Regions from separate parts of the Homo sapiens genome. Here all the other regions are linked to region 1. The links are contacts of gene promoters, found by promoter capture Hi-C in blood cells and fetal thymus (Javierre and others, 2016). All regions are on one chromosome and are shown on one strand. The core of a region is centred on a gene start or on the middle of the fragment in contact, and the rest is flanking DNA. Distances in the headings are between cores, read along the strand shown.

What was found. The method cuts DNA at HindIII sites, captures the fragments that hold promoters and counts their contacts. A CHiCAGO score of 5 or more calls a contact.
Region 2: a fragment that was not itself captured here is called in contact with the fragment with the promoter of ST8SIA4 in region 1 in 1 of 17 cell types (M0 macrophages); the score reaches 5.8 in M0 macrophages.
Region 3: a fragment that was not itself captured here is called in contact with the fragment with the promoter of ST8SIA4 in region 1 in 2 of 17 cell types (erythroblasts and megakaryocytes); the score reaches 6.2 in erythroblasts.
Region 4: a fragment that was not itself captured here is called in contact with the fragment with the promoter of ST8SIA4 in region 1 in 1 of 17 cell types (neutrophils); the score reaches 5.7 in neutrophils.
Region 5: a contact is called between a fragment that was not itself captured here and the fragment with the promoter of ST8SIA4 in region 1, in 1 of 17 cell types (M1 macrophages). The highest score is 5.6, in M1 macrophages.
Region 6: a contact is called between a fragment that was not itself captured here and the fragment with the promoter of ST8SIA4 in region 1, in 1 of 17 cell types (fetal thymus). The highest score is 8.1, in fetal thymus.
Region 7: a contact is called between a fragment that was not itself captured here and the fragment with the promoter of ST8SIA4 in region 1, in 3 of 17 cell types (fetal thymus, neutrophils and total CD4 T cells). The highest score is 7.7, in fetal thymus.

Annotation. Positions count from the first base shown.
Region 1 is chr5:100,901,434-100,904,759 of GRCh38, reverse strand. ST8SIA4 (ST8 alpha-N-acetyl-neuraminide alpha-2,8-sialyltransferase 4) reads left to right here and starts at 1,478. Exons shown (of 5, transcript NM_005668.6): 1 at 1,478-1,917. The coding sequence starts at 1,805. It overlaps LOC107986437 (a long non-coding RNA gene), which reads right to left and starts at 1,352. Exons shown (of 2, transcript XR_001742825.3): 1 at 1-1,352. RefSeq lists enhancers at 76-315, 1,096-1,335, 1,821-2,390. The HindIII fragment of the contact is 2,860 bases long and covers 1-1,931 here.
Region 2 is chr5:100,421,215-100,424,540 of GRCh38, reverse strand. All of the region lies in intron 6 of LOC105379100 (a long non-coding RNA gene), which reads right to left. Among named protein-coding and RNA genes, the nearest start is that of FAM174A-DT, 110 kb to the left of the region's middle. The HindIII fragment of the contact is 870 bases long and covers 1,142-2,011 here.
Region 3 is chr5:101,385,441-101,388,766 of GRCh38, reverse strand. No RefSeq gene overlaps it. Among named protein-coding and RNA genes, the nearest start is that of ST8SIA4, 480 kb to the right of the region's middle. The HindIII fragment of the contact is 2,872 bases long and covers 173-3,044 here.
Region 4 is chr5:100,438,487-100,441,812 of GRCh38, reverse strand. The region is part of intron 7 of LOC105379100 (a long non-coding RNA gene); the gene reads right to left. Among named protein-coding and RNA genes, the nearest start is that of FAM174A-DT, 95 kb to the left of the region's middle. The HindIII fragment of the contact is 7,935 bases long and covers 1-3,326 here.
Region 5 is chr5:100,464,466-100,467,791 of GRCh38, reverse strand. All of the region lies in intron 3 of FAM174A-DT (FAM174A divergent transcript), which reads left to right. Among named protein-coding and RNA genes, the nearest start is that of FAM174A-DT, 69 kb to the left of the region's middle. The HindIII fragment of the contact is 2,247 bases long and covers 363-2,609 here.
Region 6 is chr5:100,487,990-100,491,315 of GRCh38, reverse strand. All of the region lies in intron 3 of FAM174A-DT (FAM174A divergent transcript), which reads left to right. Among named protein-coding and RNA genes, the nearest start is that of FAM174A-DT, 46 kb to the left of the region's middle. The HindIII fragment of the contact is 6,152 bases long and covers 1-3,326 here.
Region 7 is chr5:100,518,215-100,521,540 of GRCh38, reverse strand. It overlaps FAM174A-DT (FAM174A divergent transcript), which reads left to right. Exons shown (of 5, transcript NR_172939.1): 3 at 2,930-3,011. Among named protein-coding and RNA genes, the nearest start is that of FAM174A-DT, 15 kb to the left of the region's middle. The HindIII fragment of the contact is 2,653 bases long and covers 228-2,880 here.

The DNA.
Region 1 (3,326 bases), core at 229-2,728:
CCGACCCCGTTCGCTGTGCTGCAAAGAGGAAATTCAAGATCTCGGAAGTTCTTAACTTCTTAAACTCTAGAGGAAGTATGGTAAACACTGGCGGGAACCTTGGGTTTTTAAGCAAAGATGCTGGCTGTTTTCGTTGCTATTTTAAGCTGTCAGGCGACAAGCAACTCAGAATTCCCCTTCTTACTTCCGGCGGGAGGGAAGATTGGAATTGGGCCTCATCATTTCTGAGCGTGAAAAACCGCTGAAGCTACTGTTCAACCTGAAGGAACACGGAATTCAACTGGAGAGAAACCCTGGCGACCAGGGAGCTGGGGACCGGCGCATATAGATGAGGGAAATCCTGGCTTCCAGACACTGTCTCATGCTAGAGGTGCCTCCCGACCTACCAGCCAACAGTAAAGACCGGAACCAAGGCGTGGTACTAGCAGAGTAGCAAGCATCTCTCCCAATGAGGGCAACGACTGGAGGATGGTGGAGAGGTACTCAGAGTGAACAATCGAACACAGAACTCTTGAAAAGTGTCCCTGCCACCCAATACAAGTACGAAAAATGGTGGGACGGAGGAGAGGTGACAATCAGAGGCTATATATATAATTGAGACTTTTAGAGAGGACTTTGCTCTTCCTTCCTCCCCTCCCTTTTCTTTCCTTTCTTTCTTTCCTTCCTTCCTTGGTATCCGAATGTGTGTGGGTGTACTTGCGTTTAAAAGAGAGGTCCATGGTAGCTGCTTTTTTTTCAGAACTCTGTTTCTCCGCAATGAAGTTTAAGTGGGATTGGAGTTTCCTTGACTTCTGCGTGAGGAGTTTCCAAATGGCAATGAAAGGGAGGCGCATAAATATCCATAAAGTTCCTAATGACACCTCTATCATCACTTGTTTCCTGCAGAATCCTGAGCCAGGGTCGTCGTCCACCACCCATGCAGAGTGGGCCCATCGGCTAACAGGTTCATGTGTGTATTTGCACTTTCCAGATTGAGTAATAAAAGTCTTCTTCCTTCCACCGCCGTCCCCACCCCCGCACCCCGTTTCACTCCACCTTGGAGGGCGTGTTTTTGCGTGTGAGGGTGTGTGTTTAGCAAAAGCGATTGAAAGAAGGTACTCTTCTTGCAATCCACCCCTAGCTCTACCTGAAGCATTCCTCTGGCGGGACGCTTTTGTAATCTGTCCCCAGGCGAGGTGCCCTCTCACCTAGATGCGGATAGACTATCTTGGAGCTCCCAGGTCCAGAGAGCTGATGCTTTGATGTCCCAGGAGAGTGTGTGTGATTCTGCGTGTACGTGTGTGTGCATATGTATGTATGTGTGTATGTATGTATATGTGTATGTGCGCGAGCTCGCAGGCGCGTAGCACTGTGAGCTTCCTCTCCCGGCACAGAGCAGGCAGAGCCGGGGACGTTACTCTCCAAGCAGCCTCCGCCCCCTCAGCCTGGTGATTGGCTTTGCGCAGCGTTTATCTCCTAGCAAGAGGGAAGGGCCAGTGACGCCCCCGAACCCAGCTGCAGAAGCTGCCGCCACCTCCAATGCACAAGGTGTCTCATCTGAAAAGAAACCTGAGCCCCAGGGAGGCGGCGCGGAGCGACCCTGGCAGAGCTGGCGCAAACAGGGCGAGAGGTCGCTGGGCAGCGTTCGAGGACCAGAGGGAGCTCGGCCACAGAAGACCCCAGTGATCTGATCCCGGGATCCCGGCTCCAAGCTCTCCTCGCATTTTACAGATTTCACCCCCGCGACTATCTCCCCAAAACGGAGCCTTTATATCAAGAGAAGGTGCGGGAGCTGGGGCAACCAGGACTTTCTCGGGCACCCAAGATGCGCTCCATTAGGAAGAGGTGGACGATCTGCACAATAAGTCTGCTCCTGATCTTTTATAAGACAAAAGAAATAGCAAGAACTGAGGAGCACCAGGAGACGCAACTCATCGGGTAAATGCAAAGCTTCATTTCAGGATATGACAAAAAGTCAAGCCATAAATGAAATGTGAATATAGAGGGTAGAGTGATGGTTAGGATAGCATGTGTGTTTGTTTGAGCTTGCGCGTGGTTAGTGTCATGAATTAAATAACAAAGGCTGTTGTTGAGATGTGCGTGCTTCTCTAAGCTGTTCCCAGTATGAGTTCAACTTGCTCTGTGTGGTTGTGGTGACAGTTGTGTTGGCCCTGGGTGCTCTCTCGCCAAAGGAGAAGTCACTGCAGAAGTGTCAACAAAGAACGTGTGTCCTTGTCCTTTTAATCTGTGGGCAGAACTCAAGAGAAATGTCTTTATTCACCAAACGGTTGCCTGTTTTCAATGTCCTATCACCTAAGGAGATACTGGAGATAGATGGTTTCTCGAAGGGCTGAAGTTAAAGCTTAGAAAGCAGGAAATAGGTATACTCTGTTTCTCTACTTTTTTTTTTTCTATTTGACGTTGGATAGATTAATGTGTTATAATTTGAATTAGAAACTCCAGTACCACTAAGGATACTTCCTTATTTGTTCTTCTACGGCTAAAACGCATGGGCGTCATGGTTACAGTTTTAGAAAGAAACTGGGTACTGTAGCTTCACACAGACTATATTTCTGCTATTTTTTTTAGTTTGTCTAGATGAGTTCAGACTCTCCCCCGCCCCACTAAGTTCTCTAAATATCACACTTCCTTCCACCCGCTGGCCTCTGTGTCTTTGAAGTTTACCCAGGAGGTGGTGCAACTTTGTGTTGCTGACATAGCTTGGAAGGCTTTTTCTGAGGATGTGAACCTGATTGTCAACTCTATTCAAAGTCCTGTTTCGGAAATCCTCCCTGTTCCGGTTTGGAGGCGTCCTCTATCAGAAACTACACACCAGCAGAGATGCCTGCCCAGTTTATATTTTTCTCTGACATTGATTAAAACAAAGAAAACAGCCCTTGCGTGTGTGTGTATGTGTGTGTGAGAGAGAGAGAGATGGGACTGCTAACACACACACATGCTCTTAAACTTCCTGCACTCCATTTCTTAATATTCCTGCTCCCTAGGTAATAAGCATTTATTTAAGCGAGCAAGATGCAGGTTGATCCTTACAGAAGGACTTGCTATTCTGTAGAAAACCAGGAAAACAGTAGCACAGTCAAAGCGGACTGGAAGAGAATGAAAAAGCTAGCAAGGAATGGGCTGGAATGGTCGTCATGCATCAACGAATCTATACATGGTCTATTCTGAGGGGGTAAAAAAGACCGGTATGAGGTCGTTTACACAAGACTGGGTGGCTTGAAAATCCAATCTAGCTCAGTTGTTAGAAAAGCAGGACTTTGGGCAGGGGCGTGGGCATCCCTTGCAGACCTGTGCTTGCCAGGCAGACAAAGGGGTCTTTAGAAAGG
Region 2 (3,326 bases), core at 327-2,826, 480 kb after region 1:
GCTCTCTGTCACAGGGAGGGGTCCTGAGTGGGTTTCCAAGTTGTAGTAAAAAGTCAGGGATTTTATAAATGGGCTAGTGAGGAGGGGTGTCTTATCTTCCTAAGGCCTGAAGATTTAGTTGGAATCAGGTGTGCTATGTGCATAGCACAGAGTTTTCTATCAGCTCTCACCCAATTCCTTGATTACATAGGTAGACTCTTAGTTTCTGCTGCTCTATTTTGCTTATCTGGGAGGGAGAGTTTCTGTGTCTGTTCCAGACATCTTCTCATCTTCTTGCACAGCTGCAGGGATCCTCCCCTGCCCCCCTGCTTTTAGCTTCCTTATCTTAGTGTGCTTAAAGGGAAAGGAATGTGGTTATTAAGGCCCATTGTTTTTACTAGGGCCCATTTTATGAATGTGAAGTTTGGTGATTACCGAGGAGACTCCCCCACCTCTTTCTGTGCCCAAGTTGTTTATCTGTGTTTTTTTTTTTTTTTTTTTTTTTTTTTGAGGCGGAGTTTCGCTCTGTCGCCCAGGCTGGAGTGCAGTGGCGCGATCTCGACTCACTGCAAGCTCCGCCTCCCGGGTTCACGCCATTCTCCTGCCTCAGCCTCCCGTGTAGCTGGGACTACAGGCGCGCGCCACCATGCCCGGCTAATTTTTGTATTTTTAGTAGAGACGGGGTTTCACCGTGTTAGCCAGGATGGTCTCGATCTCCTGACCTCGTGATCCGCCCGTCTCGGCCTCCCAAAGTGCTGGGATTACAGGCGTGAGCCACCGCGCCCGGCCGTTTATCTGTGTTTTTACAGCCTTTCAGGTTGTTCTTTGTTAGAAGAGAAATGATTTCTTTGAACTTCACAAGGTTAGAAAGGGAGCCATTTCTGAGCTGCTTTTTGTTAGAAGGAAAGTATTCTGCCGGGGACTCTCTTTACTCTGTCTACCCAAATAATTTATTTTTATCTCCTATAACAAACACCCCCCTCAGGAATGAAATTCCTAACTGCTGTTACGGGGAATTGGGCGTCGACTTACTCTGGCTACTTCCTGCTGGAGAGGGGCGTGGCATGGGAATAGCAGCTAGGGCTCCTCCTGGGTCAATTTAAGGGTATGCAGTAGAAGGTCAGTTTAATTTTCAGCTCCTTTTGCCACACCATTTAAAGCTTGATGGTTTCTAGGTGAGAAGAAGTAAACTTTACAAGGAGGTTTAGAATATAGGGTTAAAATATGAGTATTAAGACTACCATTATTAGTGGGGGCACTATAGGCCATAACCATGACAACAGAGTTTATTTGATACCTGTAAGCCATTTAGATGGGTTGTGCTGTTTTAAGTGAGTGTATGGGGCTAGGCTTTTTTAAACTTTCTTGATCTTACTTTCCCAAAAAAAGAAAACCTTGGGGTTATAGGCTACCTAGCAAGATTTATAGGATAATTGCCCAGCCAGAACATTGTTCGAGATTTTTACATTACCTATCACTTTCTGTTTTGTTTGAGCCACAGCTGGAGATGTGGTTGGATTACAAGAATTAGCATGGTTAGTTTAAAATGTAGACAAGAATTTAAAAATGACTAATGAGACTTGAATCCAATGACAGATGTATGATAAATTTTGAAACATAATTTCTGTCTCTCTAGTCCTCATTTTGTTAAAAAACAACTTATGATAGGACTTAGCTGTTTGCAAAGTAAACTTTAGTTGTATACTTGGCCTGATTATTTGCATAAAATGAAGCAAGAATAATCACCTCTATATAGGCCTTTTTGATTGGCTTTGATGGAACTCTCTGTTCCACAAGGAATTTCAGATCGGACTTTTTAAAACCAAGCCCAGCCATGGGTTTGTATCTACAAATAACTGTGAGTTGGATAAACTTTTTTCTTCCTGAGATTTTAGAAGCATGGAGTTCCTAGGTCTGTTAGAAAGTGACATTTTTTTGCTCACCACAGGTCAGTAATCTTGTACAGAGACTGTGTAGACAGGTAGGAGGCCAGTTTTCTTAAGGGGGTTTTATTGGCTTTGCAAATCAAGCTTGATTCCTTAAAGGGAAGCACACCCTTCCACTCAAAGCCTCCACAGAACAGTTTCTCCAGTTGTATCTTGTTGCAAAAGAAAATGGATACTTGTTGTACTGATGCAAACACCTATATTGTTGTAATTCAAGAATACTTACAACTAGTTTCCAAATTCTAGAGGAACTAGGCACAGAGAAACAAACACGTTTTAAATATCGTTCACAGGAGTATAACTTGTTTAGTTGTTAAAAGCCTTTAAGAAAGTTTCCTTGACTTTGAAAAACAAAATAATAATCAGCAGTGTTCCAAGCATAAATTAAGAATATTGCTTTAATTTTCTATTAGTTCATTCCATTCTGTTAACTCTTGTTCTGCTTGATATTCCTAAACATTTTAGCTTTTTATGAGTCCTGTACATTTTTCTGTTATCAGAAACCTGCATTGAAGAGCACCTGTTAAAGTTCCACAGCTTGATTATAAACCATCTTTTGAAGACAATTAAAACAAGACAAATGTCTATAAATGACAAAATGTTCAGGGTGGTTACAGTCAAGAACATGATTGACAAATTTGGTTATTTCCATGGCTTACAATAACCCAACATAATAACCTTAATTGTGATTAATAGCACATATTCAGACAATAGAACCTTAGACAGCCCAGACCATTTTGGAACATATGTTGATATTATTCCCTAGAATATAACCTGAAGAGTATTAAACATCATTTTGGCAATTCCATGTGCCTAAACATGTTAAATAATCCTGTTTACCTCTTTTCCAGATGCTCCAGGGGTGCTCTGCAGCACCCAAAAGCTAGGGGTCAGGAAAGACAACCCTGAGACTAAAGTTTGATTTTAGGAAGCCTGTTAAATATGTTCAGAATTTAAAACACTTGATATTATGAAGTAGAATTTTAGATTACCATAAGTTATTTGTTTTGCCAAAATGATGAGACAAAAATCTGAAAAAGCAAAAACCATTCATCAGCATTTTTAATTACATGAAAATCCCATTCAAGAGAGAAAGTTAAATTTTACCCATGCATTAGTTTGCTATTAAAATTAACTCTAATTTTTAATGAAACCTTGTAGACAATCCTACATAATCTTAACCAGTTTGACTATGAAGTGAGATTTTCACAAACCTTTTATTAACCTCTACAAATTTTGCTAAAGAGTGGATTGGCATCTTAAGAAAACCTTGTTCTGCTTTTATTATAGTGTTTACAGAAAAAAAAGTATAATACCCTTTTGTATTTAGTTAATATGTTCACACACAGAGTTTCCTTTGAAAGATTAATTTTTACAGTCTTTTCACAATTTGCTTAAACT
Region 3 (3,326 bases), core at 359-2,858, 480 kb before region 1:
GTAGTTCACTCTTTCTCTCATACCACCCTACTCATTTCTCTTACTACCTATGACAGAGTGATTTTCTCACTTATTTTTGTAGTTTCTTTTTTTTCCCTCCCCCCACTAGATATTAGACCTCTAGAGGACACCATTCAGTAACTGTGTTTTTCAGTTAGTCACTTATGAAGCTTGGAGCTGGAATGTAAAGATTCTCCTTCCCAGGTAAAGATGAAGCTCCTCTACAAATTATTCCTGCAAAATGACCTTAGAAAATGGAATATTGCTGGAAAACAAATATCCATTAAACTGTGAATATACTAAATGATATTGAATTTACTTCTTTACCCACAGAGACTTTTTAATAATATGCATTTTAAAAACAAAAGTATAATACACTTAAGTCACATACTTCAAATAAAAATCTAAATGTTTACATCCCCTTAGATATTTTCCTAGTGCCCTTTCCCGGTCAGTACTCCTCAGAAGTAACTATTGTTCTAACTTCCATAAACAGAGATTAGTTTATACTGATTTTGAACTTTTTGTAAACCAAATTATAAAATATCAAGTTTTTGAGTCTAACTACTTTTGTTGAAGATAATGTTTTTGAGATTAAACAATATTGTTTTGAGTATCAGTGGTCTATTCTTTGCTACAGCTTAATAGTATTCCTACTTATGAATTTTCCATATTTTGTGTATCCATTGTATGTAGATAAACTTATATGTTTCACAGTTTAGGGATATTTTGAGTAAAGCTGCTATGAATGTCCTTGTACATACCATTTTAATCTGCATGCGTTTCATAATTTCTTTACATTTTTCAGTTTTAGACATACATATTAGATATTTTAACTATGTTACCTATCTTTCCTCAAATCTTTTACTCTTTTACTCAAATCTTTTACTCAAATCTTTTCCTCAAATTTTTACCTCAAATTTTTACTCTTTTTCTGCTTTTTGGCAGAAATTTGATTGAATATTTTCTATTAGCCTGTCTTAGAAATTACTAATCCTACTTCCTACTCTGTGTAGGCTGCAGTTAAATTCATCTATTGAGGTCTTAAATTTACATATTGCATATTACATTTCTAAATGTTTGATTGTGTGTGGGGGGGTGTTGGTGGTTGAGTGGGTTATGCTCTCCTTTGCATTCCTCCATTTTTAATGTACCATTTACTCTTTCATAGTTATCTTAAGGCCCTTGTTGACTTACTCCAAACCTGGATCATTTCTGATTATTAGTACTTTATTCTGCTTCTGTCATAGGCTTGGTGTTAGGTTTCATTAGGGTGGTTCCATATGAGCTTTGTTCTTATTGGAGGGTACAGACGTTATCTCAAGGTGTTAACCTTATGCTCAGGGCATGGTCTTTCTGGAGTCTCATCTTAAAGCCAGTAGTGTTCACAGAGATTTCTCTACTTTGATTGGGTTGGAACTTCAGTGTCTCCCCAACACTCTGAGGCATTTTTCTGCTTTTAGCCTCTCAGCACTATTCTCTGCTAAGACTTCCAGAGATATGCTTTGCGTGTTAACAATTTAGAAGTTGGTCCAGGATTCAAAGTGAGCTTTCATTCAGATTGTCGATGTTCCTTCCCTATATATTTATTCTCAGCACTCTACCTCCAAATCCCAATAACTTCTGTAACCCCTGCACACATATTTTTCCACATGCTAATCTCTGATTGGGCTCTGTTTCCATGAATTATGGTTTTGAAAATGTCCTTAAGGAAACAGCAAAGGAGAATGAATGCTTCCCTGTGTTGTGTGCTGATACCTGCAAGGAATTGTTAACAATATTTTGTCTAGCTGTTGTAGTTAGTTACAGCGGGAGGCTATGTCTAATATTTGTTAGTCTATCATGACTGGTACTAAACATTTTCTGAGAGATTCTAATTTGTAAAGTACAAGCCATAGAAAATGTATTATATCTTTTTTATTATCTGTTCATTATTTTTTAACAAATATAATAGCACCTTTATTTGCAAGTAACTTTTAAGCACAGAGGATACATATGTAGAAACATAAGTATAGACCATACCCTCATGTACCTTGGCTAGAAAAATATCCATTAAATAAAAATGTGCCAAAAAATATTTAATCCAGATATTATAAATGGAACAGTTAAAATTAGAGCTTACTTAAAATGTATAATACACAGACTCCCCAAATCAGTATATAAATTCAAGTAAATTAGTCAAGTTAGCCTCTTGACTTTTCCTAAATTTACTATAGAACTGCATGCATCTACAATACTTTGGGGAGCAGTCATATAAGTGAAAGTGGGCAGTGTGTTTCTTTCAACTATCAAGAATACTTTTTAAAAGTGTCTTGAAAACATTTTCATATTTGTAATGTGAAATGCCAACATATAAGCTGAAAGAGAATTATACACTTAAATTATGCAGTTTTCTTCAGACTATGAGTTCAGCTTTATCCAACTGAAGGAGGCAAGTAAATGTATTTAGGTGAAGTGCAGCTATAGGGACCAAGTATGACGTAAGAGTTTCTAGTTGAACATTGCTTCTCTTGGGGGATAAAACAGTTTCATGAAAACATTTTTTTTGGAAGTTGTTTTTCAAGTCTGTGTTCATTGGAAAAGTGCATTTTATTATATGAAAATAATAAACCTTTCTCACAGCAACTAACCACAAACCCATTTTCCCACAGCCTCTTCTGCACTATTCACAAAAGTAGAAATTTAATACGAGGTTCACATGATAGTCAGAAGGTAATATATATAACTTAATTACTCAAATTAAATGTTTTAAATAATATTTGGAACATGATCCAAAAACTGAGTCACTATTTCTTTAATCACTATTCTACCATCAAATGGTCAGACCTTATATTAAGTTTTTTTTTCTTTTTTTTTTAGATACTAGCACTATGCTAGAGTTCTAAGGGTACCATACAAACCAAAGTCATGGCTCCTGTTCCCAAAAGAAGCAGTGTTTTCAAGATACTAAGAAGCAATCCAGAAAACAAAGAGTATCAAGTTTGCCAAATTGTGTGTCATAAGAATATGTGCAATATAAATTTAAACAAGAATAGAGAGAAGCTTGTAAGGCTTAGAATTGTCAGAAAGTTTTGGTAAGCAGGTAAGAGCAGACATAGCTGTAACTCAAATTATGATTTAGTGGAGGTTGAAATGAAATAAATGACTTTAGGAAAGGTTAGATATTTGGTCTATGATCTGGGAGGACCTAAGCATTCTTTGTTATTGAGCAGATAGTAGCCCTATATATTTGCGCTGCATTCAAGCCTACAAAATACTCAAGAACTACTCAAGAGAAACTCATTTCAGGACTCATATATCTTCAATGACAATTCTTTTGATCTGAA
Region 4 (3,326 bases), core at 215-2,714, 460 kb after region 1:
GAAGCAATACTATAATAAGCAACTTTTTAATGTACAACCTTACCTACTCATAGCTTTACTTTAGCAGATAGGTTTACTGCATTGAGAAATACATATATGCCTATATACACACATATACACACAGTAATATATGTGCATTTGTGTGTACATATATATATTGCCCCATATTGCTTTCATAAAAGGTCAAAACAGTTCACATTTCCATCAGCAGTGCATGTGAACGATTTTCCAAAAACATTTCTTTAAGGAATATGTATACCAAGTTACCACATAGACAAAATTTGAAAATTTCTTTATAACAGCATTATTTTAAATGTAGTGATTATCTTCAGTGTTGCAGATGCTTAGGTGTAACACTTAACAAGACCGTCATGATCCCTGCATTTATAGAGCTTACAGGTAAATGGCGGAGAGCAACAATTAACGGTATGATACACTAATGATAAGGAAAGTACAGTATCATTAGAAAAAAATGCAGGAGTGATGTCTACCATGGACTTCAGAATCAAGGAACATATGAAAGTGACATGTATCTCAAGGTCTGAAAGATGAGTAATAATTACAGAGGCAAGGTATGGGGACAAGTATCCCAAGGAGAGAAATAGGGACAGTCTTAATTTATGTGTTGCTATAAACTAATAACTCAGGCTGGGTAATTTATAAAGAAAAGCGGTTTATTTGACTTACAGTTTTGCAGGCTGTACAAGAAGCCTGACACCAACATCTGCTTCTGGCAGGGGCCTCAGGAACATTACGGTCATGGTGGAAGGTGTAGCCCACTATATGGGGAGCCCACTATATGGTGATGGCAGAAAGCAAGCTAGAAAGGTCCAGGTACCAGACTCTTTTCAATAACCAGTTCCCCTGGGAACTAAAAGTGAAAACTTACTAACTCCACTGGGAATGTCATTAAGCCGTTCATGAGAGATCCATCTCCATGATACAAGCACTCCCACCAAGCCCTGCACCCAACATTGGGGATCAGATTTCAACATGAGACTGGGCTGTGTAAAACAAACATATCCAAACCATAACAGTAACCTAGAGAACCGAAAAAGCAAAACGGAGCAACTTCAGGTATCATAAAAAAGCTCAGTGCAGAATCTTAGAATTAGAAAGTGGAAAGTGGAAACAAATGAGACTGGATAGCAAGAAAAGCATGAGATAATGAAGAATATTGCAGTATTAGACATGCTAAGAACATCCTGTGACAGCAAAAGGCTAATAATGGTTTAATATATGTATTAATATAATTGAATATTGTATTTTTAAGCAGTCACCCTATTAGACCCTGATCTTTGTACTGGACATTTGGAATTCATCTGATATTTAATGCTCAATATTTAAATTTTATATTTTTCCTGGGCTCCTATTTGGGTGTCAGGAATACTCTTCTGTTTAGATCCAAGCTATTTAAAATTTTGGTAATACATCTTTCCTAGTTTTGATTGATCTTTGTAAAATGTTCGTAATATCATTAAATATTTTATGTAATTCCATGTTATTTTATTTATTATTTGTATCATTATGTCATTGGAAAAAAATTGCACCAGTGTTAGAGGTCATAAAGATACCAATTAATTCAAACTCATGGAGTTTCTACTACAAAGCTGTCTCCTTTCCATCAAAGGACCAAGAAGAAATTCAGTGGGAAGACATATATTTAGGACCTTCTACTGTGATGCAAGTTAAAGGTTAGCATAATAGTACTTTTTGAAGTCAGGTAGCGTGATGCCTTCAGCTTTGTTCTTTTGGCTTAGGATTGACTTGGCGATGCGGGCTCTTTTTTGGTGCCATATGAACTTTAAAGTAGTTTTTTCCAATTCTGTGAAGAAAGTCATTGGTAGCTTGATGAAGATGGCATTGAATCTATAAATTACCTTGGGCAGTATGGCCATTTTCACGATATTGATTCTTCCTACCCATGAGCATGGAATGTTCTTCCATTTGTTTGTATCCTCTTTTATTTCATTGAGCAGTGGTTTGTAGTTCTCCTTGAAGAGGTCCTTCACGTCCCTTGTAAGTTGGATTCCTAGGTATTTTATTCTCTTTGAAGCAATTGTGAATGGGAGTTCACTCATGATTTGGCTCTCTGTTTGTCTATTATTGGTGTATAAGAATGCTTGTGATTTTTGTACATTGATTTTGTATCCTGAGACTTTACTGAAGTTGCTTATCAGCTTAAGGAGATTTTGGGCTGAGACAATGGGGTTTTCTAGATATACAATCATGTCATCTGCAAACAGGGACAATTTGACTTCCTCTTTTCCGAATTGAATACCCTTTATTTCCTTCTCTTGCCTAATTGCCCTGGCCAGAACTTCCAACACTATGTTGAATAGGAGTGGTGAGAGAGGGCATCCCTGTCAAACTATACTAGAAGGCTACAGTAACCAAAACAGCATGGTACTGGTACCAAAACAGAGATATAGATCAATGGAACAGAACAGAGCCCTCAGAAATAACGCCGCATATCTACAGCTATCTGATCTTTGACAAACCTGAGAAAAACAAGCAATGGGGAAAGGATTCCCTATTTAATAAATAGTGCTGGGAAAACTGGCTAGCAATATGTAGAAAGCTGAAACTGGATCCCTTCCTTACACCTTATACAAAAATCAATTCAAGATGGATTAAAGACTTAAACATTAGACCTAAAACCATAAAAACCCTAGAAGAAAACCTAGGCATTACCATTCAGGACATAGGCATGGGCAAGGACTTCATGTCTAAAACACCAAAAGCAATGGCAACAAAAGCCAAAATTGACTAATGGGATCTAATTAAAGTAAAGAGCTTCTGCACAGCAAAAGAAACTACCATCAGAGTGAACAGGCAACCCACAAAATGGGAGAAAATTTTCCAACCTACTCATCTGACAAAGGGCTAATATCCAGAATCTACAATGAACTCAAAGAAATTTACAAGAAAAAAGCAAACAACCCCATCAAAAAGTGGGCAAAGGATATGAACAGACACTTCTCAAAAGAAGACATTTATGCAGTCAAAAAACACTTGCAAAAATGCTCACCATCACTGGCTATCAGAGAAATGCAAATCAAAACCACAATGAGATAGCATCTCACACCAGTTAGAATGGCAATCATTCAAAAGTCAGGAAACAACAGGTGCTAGAGAGGATGTGGAGAAATAGGAACACTTTTACACTGTTGGTGGGACTGTAAACTAGTTCAACCATTGTGGAAGTCAGTGTGGCGATTCCTTAGGGATCTAGAACTAGACATACCATTTGACCCAGCCATCCCATTACTGGGTATATACCCAAAGGACTATAAATCATGCTGCTATAAAGACACATGCACACG
Region 5 (3,326 bases), core at 237-2,736, 440 kb after region 1:
TAAAAGAAAACTTTGGGCTTAAAACATATTTAAATGTGACAGCTTCACTAAGCATTAAAATGGGTATTATCACAGGTACCCCCGAAATAGGTACATCTATTGTGTATCAATAAAAAATAATAACATAAATAAAATGGGTAACAGATACATTGAACTTTATTTTGTACTTGAAAATATAACATTTTTTATTAATTAGAATTGTATTTTGAGAAAAAAAGAGATAAATCACATAATGTTTTATATTTGGACAGAAATGACTTTAAAAAGTTTTTTTAAACAATATATCATACTTCCAGATGAATCTCTGCTGCTAATTTACCTCATGTTGTTTCCATCATGAAAATATTCTTCATCCATAAGCTTCAAAATATTCAGGTTAAATGGCTAATTTGTTGTTTTCTCAGAAGCCATGTAACAGTTTTTTGAATATATTCTTAAAGGTAGATACTGTTGTAAGTGCTAGAGATTAAGAAAAAAGATACATAAAACAATTTTTTTCTCAAAGAATATAGAGTCTCTGTGAGCACTGACAAATATAAAAACAAAGTCTACATAATGTATTAGATACAACGGACATTTATTTAAGATTTAAAAATTATAACATAATTTTGATGTAGAACACTAAACATTGTAATAAAATTTTGCACAAGATACAAACATAGAAATGTGGATGGTAAACACGTGTGGAAGACATGAGAAATGATTAAGTCATTGAGACCATTTAATATAATTGGAGGAAATATCTAGTCCATGTTTTTGAAGATGATAGGTACTCATACAGAGAATGATAAGGACATTTTAATACATAAATATGCATGGACAAATGAGACAAAATAGTGCATTCAACCAACTACTAGTAATTTTATATTGCTAGAATGTGATGTTCAAAGATTAGAAAACAACAAGAGATGAAGAAAGGAGACAATTTAAACAGCCAGTGCAGTGATCCAGGCAAAATGCAAAGAGAACCAGAACTAACTTAGTGGCAGAGACCTGAGAAGAAAAAGAAAAATAGCTTCAAGGAATAGTCAGGAAACAGGAACTTTGGGACTTGTTGATTATTCAAAAGAAGGGGATATTTTAATCACTTTATAGTTTCCAATGCCTTTTTGATCTTTAAATAAATATGAGAGCTGATATTATTAGAACAAAAAATATCTTTAGGTATTTATATATGGATCATTATATTTATATGCTTTTCCATTTAAATGTCCTATTCATTAAATTTTTCACTTATCATCTAGATATTTTATTGATGAATACACAGAGAGTAGTTAAAATTATTAATACAAAGTGAAATATTTTTAAAAATAATAACAATAAAAGATTAAATTTAATGAGTCCAGATTTATTTAAATCCCAAAGTCAGTTAACTGGCATAGAACAATATTTTTATGATATGCAAAACTTTCTAAATTCTCTTCTCTATTTTGAGAACATCCTTCAAAAATGCTCCACAAACCTCTTTGCTTTTGGTTAGTCAATATAAGAAATAAAGTAGAAACTCTTTTCCAGCAGAGTGCAGAAAGACATTTTAGCTCCTTTTCTCATTAAAAAAACCCAGCAACTTTTCTTTCTTTGATGTATGCAACTTTCAAAAATATCTCCATCTGTATTCCCTTCTACAATATAACTAATTGAATTTTTGTTTTCTTATAAACCGTAAATGCAGCTGTAATGTCCTGGTTACTAAAAGTGACTGAAGTAATGTAATTCTTCTTAGAATTCATTTGATTACAGACTTGTTCACTGTAATCAAGCAACAGCAGATACTTTTCTTGACAAAAAGAGGAAATAATTTATAAAAACCAATTTCAAAATTTTTTTTTGTTCAGGAATAGTCTTTGCTAGGCATACTCCTAACAGTGATTTTGCTGCTAAAAAAGAAAGAAAAAAAGGAAGTTACACTTTAGTCATACAGGGAGTGTTTATGAGGATATATCAACTTTCTTTAGCTTCCTTGTAATATACAATCAATATTCAGTAATATCTATGGACCTTGGATTTTATGCATATGCACATGTGTGTATGTATACATACACACACATATATGTACGCCTATACATATTAGATACAATAATCTGTAGGTATGTTTATTGGCCATCTTTTTCTGCTTAACAAACAACCACAAAACCTAATTGATTTAAACATGTTTTTCAGCTCATGATTCTGTGTATGATCAATTTTTGGTTGGGCTCAGCAGGAAGGTTCTCATGATTTAACCTGGATCTGCTCTTGCGTCTGCATTCAGCTACTGGTTAAGTAGGCAGATCTGCTTTTAAGGGATTGATTACTGGCTGGAACAATACGTGCAAGTGGGCTATGGGTCTCTTAATATCCAGTAGGCTGGTTCAGCCTTGTTAAAGTTGTTGTGACAAACTTCAAGATGGAGAGAAAGCAAGCGTCGATGCTTAATTGTCATTCAGGCCTCTGCAAGTGACATATTTGCTACTGTGCCATTGGTCAAAGAAAGCTGTATTTAATATGGCCAAGCACAAAATCCATGTAGGATGGTAATTTCCAAAAGGATAGGCATGCAGTGAGACATGAACAAATTAGCAGGAATTATTGCACTAGTCTACCACAACATGGCAGTCTGAAGGCAAGCTTGTCTATCTCTCTTCTTCTGTCTGTTTCTATCTAACTCTCTTATCTACAAATCAAGTGACTAAACAAATAAAATCAGCTCCTAAATTTAGCAGTACAACCTGTGACCCATGATTGGCCATTTCACGGAAGCCAGTGGCATGATTTGAAAGAGAAGTAGACAGAACAGCATTATATCATAGGACCTGTTTAGCTAGCACTTTTTATATTGTGAACACTTTCTTTCTAATTATTACTTTATCTACTTCTATTTATTCTGGAAATGTCTGTATTATTTTGCTAATTGCAGTGGGAGAGAAACCCTTGAGGTGACTCCCAAAATTTCCCACTTTCTGGCATTCATGCCTTTTATAATGTCCTCATCTGTGACACATGGATTATGGCAAATTGGATGTCATTCTCATGATTACATTACATTTTATAAGACTCTGTCTTGCTCCCTTCTTCTGCTGGCCTTAAATAAGTTAGTTGCCATGTTGTGAACTGCCTGTGAAAAGGGCCACATGACAAGGAACTGTGGGTGACTGCTAGGAGCTGACAGTGTACAGCAAGAATCCAGGGCCCTGAGTCATAGCTTGTAAGAGCATTCTTCTCCAGTTAAATCTCTAGACGAAAAAGTAGCTTTGGTCAGCATCTTGAACGCAGCCTTGTGAGACCCTATGCAGAGGATCCAGATAAGCTGTAGGGACACAGAAGCTCTGAAATCATAAAAGTATGTT
Region 6 (3,326 bases), core at 386-2,885, 410 kb after region 1:
GATACTTACTAACCTTAGTACCTAGTATATATCCTAGACATCATGAAACAAATAAAATCACTTCCATCTATAAATGAGACTGCATTATTTGTCTTACTGTGTCTGGCTCATTTCACTTAGCATAATGTCATCCTAATTCATTTATGTTGTCACATATTTTCCCTTTTTAAAAAGGTAGAGTGAAATTTAATGTTGTATATCTACTGCATTTTCTTTATTCATTCATCCATTCATGGGCCCTTGTTTCCATATATTGGCTGTTATGAACAATAATGCAAATAAACATGATAGTGCAGATATTTTTTTGAGATAGCCATCTTATTTCCTTTGAACATATACCCAAAAATTGGATTGCTGGATTACATAGTAATTCCATTTTTAATATTTTGAAGAATTTCCATACCATTTTCCATAATGGTTGTACCATCTTAAATTCCCACCAACAATGTATATGTATGTGTTCCCTTGTCTCCGTATCCTCTATAACATTTGTTATCTTTTGCCTTTTTGATTAATAGCCAATCTAACAAGTGTGAGATAATATATCACTGTAGTTTCAGTGTGCATTTCCCTGATGATTGGTGATATTGAGCACTTTTTCACATAACTGTTTGCCATTTGTATGTCTTATTTTAAGAAATATCTATTTAGGTTTTTGCCTGTTTTAAAATTGAGAATTGAGTTATTTCTTTATTGTTATTTTTTGCTACTGAGTCGTATAAGTTCCTCACATATTTTCAATATTAACCCCTCGATATATGTTGAACAGATAATTTCTGCAATATCATAGGTCGCCTTTTCATTTTGTTGATTGTTTCCTTTGATGTGCATTACTTTAATGTCCTTATTGTTTATTTTTGCTTTCATTGCCTGTGTTTTGGGTTATCATACTTAAAAAAAATTCTTCAGACCAATGTCATGGGACGTTTTCTCTATGCTTTCTTCTAGGACTTTTTCAGTCTCAGGTCTTATGTTTTTGTCTTTAACCCATTTTTAGTTGATTTTTGTGTGTAGGTTTAGATAAAAGTCCAATTTCATGGTTTTTAGAATGGATATCTAGTTTTTCCAGCACCATTAATAGAAGAGACTATATTTTCCTCATTGTGCATTCTTGCTGCCTTACTTCAGGATTAGATGACTATATGTGTGTGGATTTTGTTATCTTTCATTGATCTGTGTGTTTGTTTTTATGCCTATACAATTCTATTTTGATTATTGTTTTGTAATATATTTCAAAATCTGGAAGAGTGGTGCCTTTAGCTTTGTTCTTCTTGTTCAAGATTGTTTTAGCTATTTGGAGTCTTTCATGGTTTTATGTGAGTTTTTGAATTTTTTTTGTATTTCTGTGAACAATGCTATTGGAATTTTAATAGGGAATGCAGATAATCCATAGTTTGCTATGGGTAGTGATATGGTTTGGCTGTTTACCCACCCAAATATCATCTTGAATTCTCACATGTTGTGGAAGGGACCTGGTGGGAGGTGACTGAATCATGGGGGCAGGTCTTTTTTGTGCTGTTCTCACGATACTGAATAAGTCTCATGAGATTTGATGGCTTTATAAGGTGGAGCTTCCCTGCACAAGCTCTCTCTTTGCCTGCCCTCACCCATGTAAGATGTGACTTGCTTCTTCTTGCTTTCCACCATGATTGTGAGGCCTTTCCAGCCACGTGGTACTGTGAGTCCAATCAAACCTCTTTCTTTTGTAAATTGCCTCATTTTACAGTCTCATGTATGTCTTTAATAGCAGTGTGAAAACGCACTAATACAGTAAATTGGTACCAGTGGAGTGGAGTACTGCTGAAAAGATATCCAAAAATGGGGAAGCAACTTTGGAACTGGGTAACAGGCAGGGGTTAGAACAGTTTGGAAGGCTCAGAAGAAGACAGGAAAATGTGGGAAAGATGGGAACTTCCTAGAGAGTTGTTGAATGGCTTTGATCAATATGCTGATAATGATATGGACAATGAAATACAGGCTGAGGTGGTCTCAGATGGAGATGAGGAATTTGTTGGGAACTGGAGCAAAGCTGACTCTTGTTATGTTTTAGCAAAAAGACTGGTGGCATTTCACCCTGTCCTAGAGACTTGTGGAACTTTGAATTTGACAGAGATGATCTAGGGTATCTGGTGGAAAAAAATTCTAAGCAGCAAAGCATTCAAGAGGTTACTTGGGTGCTGTTAAAGGCATTCATTTTTATAAGGGAAGCAGAGCATAAAAGTTCAGAAAATTTCCAGCCTGACAATGTGATAGAAAAAATCCTGCTTTCTGAGGAGAATCCAAGCCAGCTGCAGAAATTCTATAAGTAATGGGAAGTCAAGTGTTAATCCCCAAGACAATGGGGAAAATGTTTCCAGCCATGTCAGGGGTCTTCATGGTAGCCCCTCCCATCACAGGCCCAGAGGCCCAGGAGGGAAAAATGGTTCCAGGGGCTGGGCTCTGGGTCCCTGTGCTGTATACAACCCAGAGACTTGGCTCTCTGCCTCCCAGCTACTCCACCTGTGGCTGAAAGGGGCCAATGTAGAGCTCAGGCTGTGGCTTTAGGAGATTCAAGCCTCAAGCCTTGGCAGCTTCCACGTGGTGTTGAGCCTGCCAGTGACCAGAAGTCAAGAACTGGGGTTTGGGAACCTCCACCTAGATTTCAGAGTATGTATGGAAATGCCTTGATGTCCTGGCAGAAGTTTGCTGTAGGGGCAGAGCTCTCATGGAGAACCTCTCCTAGGGCAGTGCAGAAGAGAAATATGGGGTCAGAGCCCCCACACAGAGTACCTACTGGAGCACTGCCTAGTGGAGTTGTGCGAAGAGGGCCACCATCCTCCTCCAGACCCCAGAATGGTAGATTCACTGGCAGCCTGCACTGTGTGCCTGGAAAAGCTGCAGAACTCAATGCTAGCCCATGCAAGCAGCTGGGTAGGAGGCTGTACCCTGCAAAGCCACAGGAGCAGAGCTGCCCAAGACCATGGGAACCCACCTCTTGCATCAGTGTGATCTGGACGTGAGACATGGAGTCAAGAGAGATCATTTTGGAACTTTAAGATTTGACCGCTCCACTGGATTTTAGACTTGTATGGGACCTGTAGCCCCTTTGTTTTGGCCAGTTTCTCCCATTGGAACAGTTGTACTTACCCAATACCTGTACCCCCACTGTATCTAGGAAGTAACTAACCTGCTTTTGATTTTACAGGCTCATAGGTGGAAGAGACTTGCCTTGTCTCGGATGAGACTTTGGACTGTGAACTTTTGAGTTAATGCTGAAATGAGTGAAGACTTTGGGGGACTGTTGGGAAGGCATAATTGGTTTTGAAAAGTGAGGTCATGAGATTCTG
Region 7 (3,326 bases), core at 305-2,804, 380 kb after region 1:
TTTGAGCTTCTTGTATTTGGATGTCTAGATCTCTAGCAAGGCTGGGGAAGTTGTCCTTGATAATTCCCTCAAATATGTTTTCCAAACTTTCAGGTTTCTCTTCTTCCTCAGGAACACTAGTTATTCTTAGGTTTGGACTTTTAACATAGTTCCAGACTTCTTGGAGGCTTCGTTCATTTTTTATTCTTTTTTCTTTGTCTTTGATGGATTGGGTTAATTCAAAAGCTTTGTCTTTGAGCTCTGAAGTTCTTTCTTCCACTTGTTTGATTCTATTACTGAGACTTTCCAGTGTATTTTCCAATTCTCTGTGTCCTTGATTTCCAGAAGTTGTGGTTGTTTTTTATTAATGCTATCAATCTCACTGAAGAACTTTCCTTTCATATCATGTATCATCTTTTTGATTTATTTAAGTTGGACTTCACTTTTCCCTGATGCCTCCTTGATTAGCTTAATAATCAACCTTTTGAATTCTATTTCTGACAATTCAGAGATTTTTGCCTTGGTTTGGATCTGTTGCCGGTTAGCTGGTATGATCTTTTGAGGGCGTTAAAGAACCTTGTTTTGTCATACTACCAGAATTGCTTCTCTGGTTCCTTCTCATCTGGGTAGACTATGTCAGAGGGAAGATCTGGGATTCAAGGGCTGCTGTTTAGATTATTTTGCCCCATGGGCTGCACCCTTTATGTAGTGTTCTCTCCCCTCTCCTAGGAATGGGGCTTCCTGAGAGCTGAACTGTCATAATTATTTTTGCTCTTCTGGGCCTAGTCACCCAATGGAGCTACTGGGCTCCAAGTTGGTACTGGGGAGTGTCTGCAGAGTCCTGTGATGTGATCCATCTTCAGGTCTTGCAGCCATGAATACCAGCACATGCCCCAGTGGATGTAGCAGGGGAATGAAATGGACTCTGTGAGGGTCCTTGGTTGTATTTTTGTTTGGTGTGCTGGTTTTGTGTTGATTGGGCTCCTGCCAGGAGGTGGCGCTTTCAGGAGTGCATCAGCTGCAGTCCTATAGGGAGGATGCAAACTTGCCCTAGGTACACTTGGTTAAGTATTCAGGTTTGCCAGGTGGTGGGCAGTGCAGTAGAGCTCCCAGGAGATTATGACCATTGTCTTTGGCTACCAGGGCTAGTACAGAAAGACCACCAGGTGGGGGTAGGGATAGGCATGTCTGAGCTCAGAGGCTCTGACATGCTGCTCTGTTTGTCCAAGCGGGAGGTGCAAGCTAGTCCTGCCTTCTACCCTTTGTTGTCTCTTTTTGCTATTGCTTTAAAATCAATTTTATCTAAGAATAGCTACTCCTCCTCAGTTGTGGTTTCTATCTGCATGAAATATCTTTCCCCCCTCCATTTACTTTGACTCTATAAGGATCCTTACATGTGAGGTGGGTCTCCTGAAGACAGCAGATATTTGGTTTGTGATTTTTTAAAAAAAATTCATTCTGACAATGTATCTTTTAAGTAGATTATAGAGACCATTTATATTCAACATTAATGTTGAGATGTGAGATACTGTTTCAGTCATCGTATTGATGGTTACCTAGTGACTTTGTTTTTTGCATTGTGTTATTGTTTTATAAGTCCTGTGAATTTTATGCTTTCAGGAGTTTCTATTCTGGTGGGTATCAATCTTTTGTTTCAACAATTAGAACTCCTTTTAGCATTTTTTTGTAGGGCTATCCTTGAGTGACACATTCCCTTAGCATTTGCTTGTCAAAGAAAGACTTTATGTCTTCTTCATTTATGGAATTTAGTTTTGCTGGATATAAAATTCTTGGCTGACAGTTACTCTGTTTAAGAAGACTAAAGGTAGTACCCCAATCTCTTCTAACTTGTACGGTTTCTACTAAGAAGTCTGCTATTAGTCTGAGAGCTTTTCCTTTATAGGTTACCTGATGCTTTTGTCTCACTACTCTTAGAATTCTTTCCTTCACATTGACTTTAGATAGCCTGGTGACTATATGCCTTGGTGTTGTCTTTTTGCAATGAGTCTCCCAGGAGTTAAATTTTTTATATTTGGAAGTCAAAAGCTATAGCAACGCCAGAGAAATTTTCCTAAGTTATTCCCTCTAGAAGTTCTCCAAACATTTTGCTTTTATTTTCTCCCTCAGAAACACCTATAATGATTAAGTTTGGCCATTTTACAAAAATGCATATTTCTCAGAGACTTTGTTCATTTATTCTAATTCTTTTTTATTCTTTTTTTTGTTCTTATTAGGTTAATTCAAGAGCCTTCTCTTTGACCTGTGAAATTCAATACTTGGTCTGTCTATGTTAAAACTTTCAGTTGCATTTTCTAGTTCCCTAAATGTTTCTTTCATTTTCAGAAGTTATGAAACATTTTTCTTTAAAATATCTACCTCTTTAAAATTTTTTCATTTATATTCTTAGTTTTTTAAAAAATGATTCTTTATGTTGGTTTTCACCTTTCTCTTGTATCTCCTTAAGTAAATTAGTAATCAACCCTTTGAATTCTTTATCTGGTATTTCAGTGATTTCATCTTGGGTTGAATCTACTGCTGGAGAATTAGTGTGATCTTTGGGGAGTGTTACATAACTGTTTTTTTCATATTTCCAGAATTATTTTAATTATTTTTCTGGTTCTGTTTCATTTGTGTAGACTAGTGTAATTATTTTTGAATTTATTTTTGACTGCTTTTTTTGATCCTTATTTTTTTTCCCCTTGAGGATGAGACTTTATTGTTTATTTTCACCTAGCTTTGGCTCTGAGTGCCTTCAGTGGCAAAGACTGTATGAATTCCTTGGTTGTAGAGAAACAATGTGCAATGACTTTCTCAGATGCTAGTTTTAATAATGATGTACTAGGTGTTGGAGTAGGTTCACTGTCTCCTGTGAGGCTGGAATAGCAGCGATTTTATGAAGCTTAACTCATTCCCTAGTGGTGTACACCTAAAAATAATTTCTTTCCCCTAGGATCTTATTCACTGATTTGAAGAGTTCATGCATCGAGCCAGTAGGCTGTGCACATGGGTAAAAACTGGCTGCGGCTAAACAGGTAGGTAAATGCAATACTCCAATGATGGGCAGAGGTCCCAGCCTTAAAAGAGGTGGCTGGGGAAGTTCTCAGTGAAATACTCTGAGATATTTTCAGGGGAAAGGGAGGGAGTCACCATAGCTCTCCTTCTAGGCCAGCAGCCAAGTGTTTCACCTCCAAGACACACTCCTGTTGCAGTGTTCCAGCTATTCAGATCAGACAGGCACCTCTTTTCATCTGCAGGAATGCTGATGTTTCATGGAGACAGGGATTGTCACTCTACCTCTTGTCCAAGCATAAACCTGGGGGCACTCCTTCTGTGAGAATGCAGTCTGA